3 separate regions of the Homo sapiens genome follow, and regions 2 and 3 are each linked to region 1. Evidence: promoter capture Hi-C in 16 types of primary human blood cells and fetal thymus (Javierre and others, 2016). All regions are on one chromosome and are shown on one strand. The core of a region is centred on a gene start or on the middle of the fragment in contact, and the rest is flanking DNA. Distances in the headings are between cores, read along the strand shown.

Evidence for each region. Contacts are between HindIII fragments. The CHiCAGO score rates a contact against its expected background, and 5 or more counts as called.
Region 2: a fragment that was not itself captured here is called in contact with the fragment with the promoter of C1orf216 in region 1 in 4 of 17 cell types (total CD8 T cells, naive CD8 T cells, endothelial precursors and 1 more); the score reaches 5.8 in total CD8 T cells.
Region 3: a contact is called between a fragment that was not itself captured here and the fragment with the promoter of C1orf216 in region 1, in 2 of 17 cell types (total CD8 T cells and total B cells). The highest score is 5.3, in total CD8 T cells.

Annotation. Positions count from the first base shown.
Region 1 is chr1:35,716,935-35,720,535 of GRCh38, reverse strand. It overlaps C1orf216 (chromosome 1 open reading frame 216), which reads left to right and starts at 1,652. Exons shown (of 2, transcript NM_152374.2): 1 at 1,652-1,829. It also overlaps a transcript of CLSPN not described here. RefSeq lists a silencer at 1,491-1,920. The HindIII fragment of the contact is 2,001 bases long and covers 534-2,534 here.
Region 2 is chr1:35,473,397-35,476,997 of GRCh38, reverse strand. It overlaps KIAA0319L (KIAA0319 like), which reads left to right. Exons shown (of 21, transcript NM_024874.5): 5 at 2,092-2,193. Among named protein-coding and RNA genes, the nearest start is that of KIAA0319L, 82 kb to the left of the region's middle. The HindIII fragment of the contact is 2,916 bases long and covers 455-3,370 here.
Region 3 is chr1:35,532,463-35,536,063 of GRCh38, reverse strand. The region is part of intron 2 of KIAA0319L (KIAA0319 like); the gene reads left to right. Among named protein-coding and RNA genes, the nearest start is that of KIAA0319L, 23 kb to the left of the region's middle. The HindIII fragment of the contact is 856 bases long and covers 1,639-2,494 here.

The sequences.
Region 1 (3,601 bases), core at 403-2,902:
GGAGGTTGCGGTGAGCCGAGATTGCGCCACTGCACTCCAGCCTAGGCGACAGAGCGAGACTCCATCTCAAAAAAAAAAAAAAAAAAAAAAAAAGTGAGGATTTGGGTCACCCCAGGCTGAAGGCCAGGGGAACCTGAAGTGGATAAGGGAAGGGAGAAGACTTAGGCCACAGGATCTGATGTAGAAATGGGGCTGACGTCTCCACCTGTATTTTCTTAGCTGGAGGAGTGTGCAAAGTTTGAATTACTTCTGCCTTCTCCTTCTTATTTCCTTTTCCCTTTTAAAATAGTCATCATAATCATAAAAATTTCTTTTCCATTTTCCCTGTTTTTGCATATAGGATTTCTTGGTGTGATTTAATTTGCCAATTAGTCTCTAGGTTGCAGAATGGTGACTTGGAATCAAATTGAAACTGGAAGAGGGCACCTCATATATTAGGGTCAGCAATTACTGAACTCTGTTCTCTTTTATTCCAAACAGGGCCCCCAACTTCACATTTCCCCAGGGTGCAAAAGAGTGAGGGGGGTCAAGCTTCAGTAGAGTGGAGCTCTGAGAAGAATCCACTGGAGTTTGGAACCCAAGACCCTTTTTTATCACGCTGTTCCTCCTCACCTGGGCAAAAGCACTGGTACCCACTTCACAGGCATCATGGGTGGGCTCTGTGTCCTGCGGAGAGCCCCCGTCCCGGGTACAGGACATCAGCCCTGAGCCCTGTCCCAGGCTTGGATCTTCTTTCTCTCTCTCTCTTTTTTTTTTTTTTTTTTTTTTTTTTTTTGAGACGGAGTCCCACTCTGTTGCCCAGACTGGAGTGCAGTGGTGCAGTCTTGGCTCACTGCAACCTCCACCTCCCAGGTTCAAGCGATTCTCCTGCCTCAGCCTCCCAAGTAGCTGGGATTACAGGCGCCCGCCACCAAGCCCGGCTAATTTTTGTATTTTTAGTAGAGATGGGGTTTCACCATGTTGGCCAGGCTGGTCTCAAACTCCTGACCTCAGGTTATCTGCCCGCCTCGGCCTCCCAAAGTGCTGGGGTTACAGGCGTGAGCCACCGCACCCGGCCTCAGTGACTTTAGTCAAGTAAGCACAAAAAGGAATATATAATTCCAAATTGTGATAAATGCTATGAAGAAAAGGAATGTGCTCTGACATAAAGGGGGGAACGAACGTGATCTAGGGAGTCAGAGATCTCTCCGAGAAGAGATCTGAAATAGGAGTAAGTCGAGAGGGGGAAGAGAATGCTAGACCGAGGGAACAGTGCGTGCCAAAGCCGCGTGGCGGAAAGGGGCGTGTGGGAGGGTAACTGCGGAGAGGGAGGGTAGAGGACGAAGCCGGAGAGGCAGACGAAGGGCAGGACGCACAGAGCCCCGCGGCTACCGCCTTAGGGGTTGTCCCGGCGGTGGGGAAGCCATTGAGGAGTTTAACGCCGGAAGGTGGTGACTAATCAGATTTCACTTGAAAATGGCACGGTGTCTGCAGCGAGGCTAACTGATGGGAAGGGCCCAGCGAATGCCAATAGGAGAGAGCACCGGACCTGGAAGGCCTGGGTCAACGCGGCCCCGCGCGGGGGCGAAGCGGTTCCGGCGCAGGGGCCTGGCGCGGGGCTCCGCGGAAAACCGAACCGGCCCACGTGGGACCGGTCGCTCCGCCCTGCTGCGCAGACGCCGCCTGACTCCGCAGTCCGGGACTGGGGCTGGGCGCGCTGCCCGGGAGCCCCGCACCCACGCCTGGACCGCGGAGACGCCCAGGCCGAGGAACCCCCAGCCCAGGGACTAGACACCACCAGGGCCGGGCGGAGCCAGAGCCAGACGCGCCGGAGCGGGCGCCTCTACGCCGTGAGTCCGAGTCTGGGGCCCGAGGCGGGGTGGGGCTTGGGGCTCAGCCGCGGGAAGCGGGGAGTCACAGTGGCCTCCTTCGAGGAGACTAGGGAAGGATGGTCTCTGTCTCCTGGGGTGGTCTCCCACTCCCGCAAGGCCAGAAAAGGAGGCTGCCTCCTGTTTGGGCGGAGACCTAGTCCTGGCGTGTCGGGGTTCTCATTTTACTATCTCTGAGAACCCTGTGATCCCTAGCGCCACCCCCACCCCATCCCAGCTTCCTTCACGGCCCCATCCAAGTATAGGAAAAATAAAAAATTGGGGCGAGGGGAGATCTCTAGGCACCTTCCCACAAGCCTTGCTTAGAGGGCGATTAGAAACGAACTGTTCCTACACCCTTCTCCCCAGGACTTCTCTGCCCATTGCTGGGGGTGGGGAGGGTCCATGCCACCTATGGAGCGCCTTCCAGTGCCGGCTCCACTTACAATACCCTTCCTCTTCATGCTCTTCAATTGTTCTAATCCCAGTGCTGTTTGGTCAGTAGAATCCCTTTGTCAGTTCAAATCCTAATTTTGGTTAGAAGCAGGTTATGGAGGAGAGAAGAGTGGTGTGGTATGCCCTCCCTCCAGGGCCTCAGAATGGAGCAAGCTAGGGACGGGGACCGCAAGATAGTGGCTGTGTTCCAGAGGCATTGGGAGGGAAGGGGGCAGGCTCAGAAGAAAAGCTTGTCACTGGGGAAGGCGGGGCTCCCTGGCTGGGGTAGGAAAGGGAACCAAACCCAGCTCTTCCAGAACCCAGCTCTTCCAGCCCTGGGGAGTCAAGAGTGGATTCCTGAGCATGGAAATTCACTGCAGTCTCTTCTCCCATTCACTCACTTAGCAAGTACCTGTATGCACAGACAGCCTGGTTCAGGGCTCTATGCTGGCTGACTCTGGGGAATATGATGGAGGATATATACAGGAGGTCCAAGCCAGATTACAAACTGCTATTACAAGATCATTACCACAAACCAAAAATGCCAGTTGAATAGACATTCACTGATCGTCGACCATGTATGCCAGGGACGGATGCAAAGTTGGATAAGACAGTGTATACCCAGCGCAGTGGGGACCCAGAGGAAGGCATAACTAACCGTGCTTGTTTATGTAATATTGATTGGGGCAGTATCAAGACGGCTTCAGAGACATGGGGACATGGAAACATGGGGATATTACAGCTAATTTTGAAGTACAAAAAGGAATTTGCTGGGTGGAGAAGGGAGGAGCTTTGAGGGGAGGGGAGAGGAAGGATATTGTAGGCCAAAGGAATACTGTAAGAAAAACAATGGTGTGTTTTGAGATCTCTGGGCAGTTTGCTATGATGGGAGGGGCAGAGTGGCAAGAGGCAGGTATGGAGGGGTGAGCAGGGGCCAGATCAAACAGGGTGTTGTAGGCCAGGTAGAGGTTTAGCAGGAATTCAGGGAGGGCATTAGGAGTGGTGACAAGTGAAATTTACATTTTTAACTGGAGGCAGAGAGATCAGTGAAAAGGCCGAGGCAATAATCCAGGTCAGAAATGGCCTGGAAGAGGAAGAATGGTCAGAATGTGGTTATTAATGAGATGGGAGAAGGAAGGATAGTGAGGACCCCAGGATGCTCTCAGCTTTCTGGATGGAGTACAGAGCCATCTTGCTGAGGATACTGAAGGAGAGCTTGTTTGGTTATGTAGAATTTTGGCGGGGGGCGGTGGTGGAGGGGGATGATGTCACTCTGTCACCCAGGCTGGAGTGCAGTGGCGCAATCTCGGCTCACTGAA
Region 2 (3,601 bases), core at 663-3,162, 240 kb after region 1:
GCATCTTTATTTTTAAAGCCATTCATAAGAAGTAGATTTATACATAGTGTATAAATAAATCTGTGCTTCACAGGTGCTGTTCTAAGGTATTAGGAAGAATTGGTTAATCAAGAAACTAAGTTGGTCTTTATCCCCTGAAAAAGTCAAGAGGGTAAAAGCAAAGTCAGTGATAATGAATTTTTGCCAATTTTTAATTTTTCAGGGTGTCCTTTGGTAGTAATAGAACATGAAATTTTAGGGGTTCAATCATGAGGCACCAAAGTAATTTTTGTATCCAGTCAAGATGCCTGTAATTTTTGGTGTAATTGTGAAGGGTTTGGGTTGAACTGTTTTGAATAGCCATTTTTTGGTTCATTATACTTTCTCTGAGTATCATGTTTCTTTCTTTTCTTTTTTTGAAAGTCACTTCAGAGAGTTCTTATTCCATCTCCTGGGGCATCCAAATGCTGAAGCTTCCATTAAGGATGGTTTCATTTCTCCTCAAGTGCAATGTTCCCATGCAGAGGCGGATAAATCTCAAGTTTCATATTTGTCTAGGAAGCCCTTCTCGCCTCCCAGGCTTGAAATATGAGTGGACTAGCCTATTGTTTGCTTTAAGCTCTCCTAGTTTTGAAGTCTCATAGCAAATGAACATTTATTGTCAGAGAAATAAGATTTATATAATCGGTGGCTTTCAGTGGTCTGCAAACATTTTTAGTTGGGGGAGGGGAGTGATGCTACTGACGTCTGGTGAGTATGGGTCAGTGATACTGTTAAACACCTTACAGTGCTCAGGACATTTCCCTCCATGACAAAGAATTACCTGGTCCAAAATATCAGGAGTGCTGAGCTTGAGAAACTCTGACATATGTGAAATAGCTGGTGAATAGTATAAAGACAGTATATAGCTCTTTGCTGACTTGAGTGTTCCAAAAATGCTAGCATACTTCAAGATTAGATCAGTTTGAACTGAAATGGTCTGGGAAGATTTCTTGGAGAGGAGACAGACTTTAAGCTAGAAACAAAATGCTGTATTTAGAATAAAGCAAGGCAAACACCGCAGTTGAAAGAAATAACTTTAGCAAAGTCCCTGAGAGTAGACCGTGGCTTTGTGGAACACAAGAGGGAAAATCAATGTAACTAGAGGCAAAATTAGATAGGAAGGATAAGACAGTGAGATCAGATGATGGTTCTCTAATGGCAGGTTGGAAGTTTGTCCTTAAATATGATATGGGAGCAGGAGTCTTAAATAGAAGAGTAACATAGTGGGTGAGTATTTTGGAAAGACTAATGGTGTTGGTTGTTTTAGGAAGACAGAATAGATTGGAGTAGAGAGAGCTAGCAGAGGGAAGATAAAATAAGATTCTTGGGATAAGCAAGCTGGGCGTGGTGGTGCATGCCTGTAGTCCCAGCTACTTGGGAGGTTGAGGTGGGAAGATCGCTTGAGCCCAGGAATTTGAGGCTGCAGTGAGCTATGATTACACAACTGCACTCTATCCTGAGCAACAGAGTGAGGCCCTGACTCAAAAAGAAAAAAAAAATTCTTGGAATAATCTAGTGTGAACAATGAATCTTGTAGCAATTGGAATGGAAAGAAAGTAAGGCAGATTTGTAACCATTTGCCTTCCCTTCTAGAAACTTTATATATGTATCTTATTAGAAAGTTATTTGTTAGCATAAAGGTGATACTTGAAACAGGATTTGAACTCTGTGGAATGTAGTATATAGGGAGGGCTTAGGGACAGACTGTAGTAAAAATACAGTGGAGGAAAAGAGAGAAAGGAGGAAAAATAGAATAATATGGTGTCATGATATCCAAGAGTTTTAAGATGGAGGCAGTTAGCAATAGTAGAAGCCACTGAGATGTGAGATGAAGAATGAGGGTATTAGGGTACAGCTGTTAGATTTACTAAGAAGTAGTTTTGAAAGATCCTTTTCAATGGAAAAGTGGGGACAGAATCAAATTTCAAGCAATTAGAGAGTAGAAAAAAGTTAGTAATTGATGGCAGTAGCTGAATATTGATCATGAAAGGAGTTTGATCACAAAAGAAAGAGAGAAATAAGACAGTCTGGATCTATTTCTTATCTCTGGTATATTTACTTTGTTTCCAGTTATAAAGGAACTGGTGGTATCTGCTGGAGAGAGTGTCCAGATAACCCTGCCTAAGAATGAAGTTCAATTAAATGCATATGTTCTCCAAGAACCACCTAAAGGTAAACATCCCCTTACATTTGGATAACCGTTTTTTGTTTTTGAAAGAGATGGAGTCTTGCTGTGTTGTCCAGGCTGGTCTCAAACTCCTGGGCTCAGGAGATCCTCCCACCTTAGTCTTCCTAGTAGCTGGAACTACTGGCATACACTACCACTCCTGGCCCTTATCTTTTTCCCTCCTCTGACTTCCTGTCAGGAAAAAATGTATTTTTTTTAAGTTACAAATTTATATTAGCAGTCATCTTGAATAACTTCTTTCTAAGTTCTACATCTGCTATTTACTGGTTGTTTGACCAAAATAAACAGATTAATCTGAGTCTCAGTTTCTTTCTCTTAAAATGGATTTAAATACAACCTAATAAATATGTTCTATATTAATAAGCATCAGCTATATGCTAGGCACTAAACTGGTAACTTATCTACTATCTCATTTTGCCCTTAAAGTAATCTTATGAGGTAGGAATTATTATCCCCATTTTATTGAGAAAGAAATGGAAATTAAGAGAAGTCATTTACTTAGATTCACACAGATAATGAGTGGCTCAGCTGAGATTTGAACCCAAGCGTGACATCAAAGCCTGTGATCTCAAACCCTACATTATATAGTACCTCTCATATTCCATAAATATTTGTGCATACCCGGGTTATATCCTATCCTCACAGGACCGTTGTAAGGACCATCGTTTCCCATAGTGAGAACCCTGTCCCTGGGGGAAAAAAAAGCTAAGCCTAATGTGATATACAAAATTCAAGTTTATAAAATATATAAAGTATGGATGATTAATTCATTATTTAAGAAAACTTTTGTAATATGAACATTACTTTCACCTTTGAAGTATGTGTTAATATACCAAAGTTTGACTTACAAACACATATGGGTTCTCTTAACACTATTTAGGACTTGAGTGGTACATACTTTGATGGAAATTGAGCCAGTTGGGTTTATGTTATCATTAAAAGGTTAGTCAAGTAGAATGTCCTTCCCTATTTAGGATGGGGTCCTTCCATTTTAGGTACACACATCTCCAATACAGTATTCTTAATTTCTAGGCCTAATACCAAATAGCATATTAATGCAAAAAGTACTTTTCCAGAAGCAAAATGCCCTGTCTGTTCTATATTTCTGCTCTCAAATCGAGGTTTCCTTATCAATTCATTTCACATTCCTCTAGAGAAGCTTTTTCCTTTCTTCCTCTGGTGACAAGTTAAGGTGATTGGGTTTAGTGGCTTTTGAAGTTGGAGGTGAGGGACTGCCTTGAGCTGTTGATTACTACCATTCTTTTGTGAAAGACATGTTTGGCTCTACTGTATTTTCTTTCCTAACCCATATTTGCATGTACCTTTCTGTGGGTTACTATCATTTTGTAGATCAGTGTTTCAAAACATGTTAGTTTAGAAATAGATTCTTTG
Region 3 (3,601 bases), core at 817-3,316, 180 kb after region 1:
ATTAAGGATCTGATTCAAATGACTATAACTCAAGATATTCCATATTGGAGCTGACATCTTTTGCTTGATTTTGTTAGTATAGAAAAAATCCCACAAATTTATTTAAATATTGGGTGAACTTTTAAAATTAACAAGAAAGCTCCTTGAATGTCTACTATGTGCTAAGCATCTTTCTGGGCCTACACATACAATATACAACCCCAGCACTTAAAGAGGGCAGAGTGTGTGAGGTAGACAAACAAATATGATCTGGTGAGAGAAATGCTATGATAGAGGTATATGTAGGATGCACAGAAGAGAGGCATCTTGGGGTGAAGGTTTCATGGGAGAAGCCTTCCTGGAAAAAGTGGTGGCCGAGCTAAAATGAAGTATAACAACAACAACATAAATAATGGCAACTAATATATACTGAGCTTTTTAATACTATATGCCAGGCTCATGTTAAGTACTTTGCATATATTTTCTCCTTTATATCTTTAATAACTCTGTAGGGTAGGTACTGTTAAAATTATTCCTGTTTTACACATGAAAAAACTAAGGAATTTGACCCAAGATGACACAGTTAGGAAGTGACTGGGTTGAGATTCAAATGCAGGAATCTCAGCTTTAGGAACTAAAGCTTTAACCACAGATTTTTGGGGTGGGGGCCAAAAGATAGAAGAGAGCAATTGTGGAATAGGGCTGTTGATCTTGATAGGGGATTTTGTTTGAAAACAAATTTCAACTCAATGTTATGAGGGACATGTATGAACATTACCTTGGGGAATGAATTTATTTTCTCACCTAGACTAAATGAGGGTGGTTTTCATATTTTCTTTAGCCTGTGAAGTATAAGTATTCTGTTTCAAGTAGGTAGAGTAAAAGGACTTTCCCCTACTCTTCTGCCTATAAATATTGCCCTCTTCTAGGGAGATGTTCTGGTACTGGGTACTGTTATTCTTTTTTTTTTTTTTTTTTTTTTTTTTTTAAGACGGAGTCTTGCTGTGTCTTCCAGGCTAGAGTGCAGTGGTGTGATCTTGGCTCACTGCAACCTCCATCTCCTGGGTTCAAGCGATTCTCCTGTCTCAGCCTCCTAAGTAGCTGGGATTACAGGCATGCGCCACCACAGCTGGCTGATTTTTTGACTGCCATGTTGGTCAGGCTGGTCTCGAACTCCTGACCTTGTGATTGTTTTTCTTTCTTTTTTTTTTTTTTTTTTTTTTTTTGAGACGGAGTCTCGCTCTGTCACCCAGGCTGGAGTGTAGTGGCCCGATCTCGTCTCACTGCAAGCTCTGCCTCCCAGGTTCACACCATTCTCCTGCCTCAGCCTCCTGAGTAGCTGGGATTACAGGTGCCTGCCACCACGCCCGGCTAATTTTTTGTATTTTTAGTAGAGATGGGGTTTCACTGTGTTAGCCAGGAAGTTCTCGATTTCCTGACCTCGTGATCCACCTGCCTCGGCCTTCCAAAGTGCTGGGATTACAGGCATGAGCCACTGCGCCCGGCCACCGATTGTTATTCTTTTCAACAGTTTGTCACAATCCAGTATCTTTGAGGCTTTTTAGTGACAGTGTTATAGGAAAGGACTTGCTGTTGTAAGCATTCTTAACCAGCAAAGTACTGCAAGATTCAGGTTTTGTGATTGAGTCCTTGGAAGCTTGTTTTCCATCTAGCAGATAATCAAGAGTTAGTGTGAATAGTAGCTGATATGTATCTGTTGGGCAAGTAGTTCCATGAGGAGTTTGTTTTTGTTCAGAATGATCTTTAGGAAAAATGGAAATACCACGGTGAAGGGAAAGAAGTCAGAATATGTACACAAAGCCTATTAATTCTTGTGTAGCAGTTAGTGTAGTTTCAGCAAATCATCTACACCATACATTTAAAAAACTGTACTCTTAGCAAAGCTAGGCACATAGCAAAGGCAGTGAGTAGTAATTATTTTCAAAGGACTGCTTTGTGAGGCAGCTGCCACCTTTCAATCCAACCTGTGTGTAGTTGAGGAAAAAAATGTTACCCCTTTTGAAAAGGAGGAGAGAGGGCAATGGTTATTACCTTGGCTTTTTTCAAACTTCGTAATACCTGATTGTGTCCTTCAAAGGATTTAGTTACCTCCTCTGCCTTGTTTCTGAATGTGCTAACCCCTGCAGGGTAGAACTGATGTGGAGAGTAAGGTGGAACCATTTTTTTTGTATTTGTTTATTAGTGGGTGTGCAGGTGACAGACATGCTGACAGTCAAAAGGGAGGTGGAGGGTGCCCCCTGAGGAGGTTTGTTTTTGAACGGTTCCTGTGAGTTGTTTTTGGGATTGATAATGTGCCTGCTTATCTCATTTTCATGTGGCAGCCATCTTGGCTGAGACCCATTGCTTCTGAGAGAATGCATACTTTTGATGATAGCTGTAGGAAGACAGATGGTGTAGAGCCATAGTTCAATTACTGAATAAAGAGACAAATTTAAGGCTGTGCCTTTCTCCTTGATAATAGTTCATTTATAGGTATAATTATCAAGGGAAAGCTTTGAATGAAGTCTTGACCATATTAGAAAATTGTGAGATTTCAAGAAAAGAATTTTAGCTTCAATGACGGTAAATATTAATTGCAAATTTTTTCTACAGAATACTCTAACCATGTATTTGTTTCTGCAGCGAAAACCCCACCGAAGAGAAGAATTTATCAACTGCTTTTTTTTTCTTTTTTGAAATAATACTGGTAGCTCATTCTCTCTACTCTTATTTCCACCATCACAGCCTTTCCTTTGGGATACAGTCTGATGAATTTAGTTAGAATTTACATTTCTGGACACTAACAGTATGACTCCTGAAACAGGGGACGTTCTGTCTCTGCTCCCTACTTGGTTGCTAACCAGGGCAGTTTTCAAGTTTGCTTGAGAAGCCAAGCTTATTACCTGAGATTTAAGAATGCCAGAGCCAACAGCACTGTCTTTAAATATTTCCAGAGTTGTTCACAGCTTTCTAAAAGTATTTAATGAATTTCCTTCTGGCAATAATTCATATATCCTGTAGACTTTTCCACTCTGCTACTTGGAATTATGAAACCTGGTCTAGATTTTGTGCCAGATATATTAGAATTCTGTCTTTTGAGAGGTGGTGATGTAAGTAAGCATTGCTAGTTCCAGAGCCTCCTGTTTTGGGGATCCTCCAGGTAATACATATGGGAGCACTGCTTTCTCTGCTTTGCTATGATTTTAGAAAGAGGGGAATTGGCTTTGCTCCACTGTTCTCACCCTGGGTAAGCTTTCTACATGCTCCTACCAACAGTGCATTCCAGACTTTCCCAAAAGATTTTCAGTCTAAGGTTCTACCAACTGTAAGCCATTTTTTGTAAAGATTTAATATTGCTTTTGCCTGGGCCCTGGGAGCAGAGCCAGGGTATGGCAGCGTGGGCAGGGAGAGGAACTGATCTAAAATTGGAGTATATTTTCATCTTACCTTTTATCCCAGTTACTTCTAGAATCCAATATTGACTCTACCAATGCCTTTCTGCTTCCTCCTTTTATGAACTCTTTGTCCCAAGAGTATCAACACTGAAAATTTAATCTTAAGTTAAATTATTCTTCAAAGGTTAACTATCTGGTAAATGATGGACCTAGAGCTGAAACTAGAA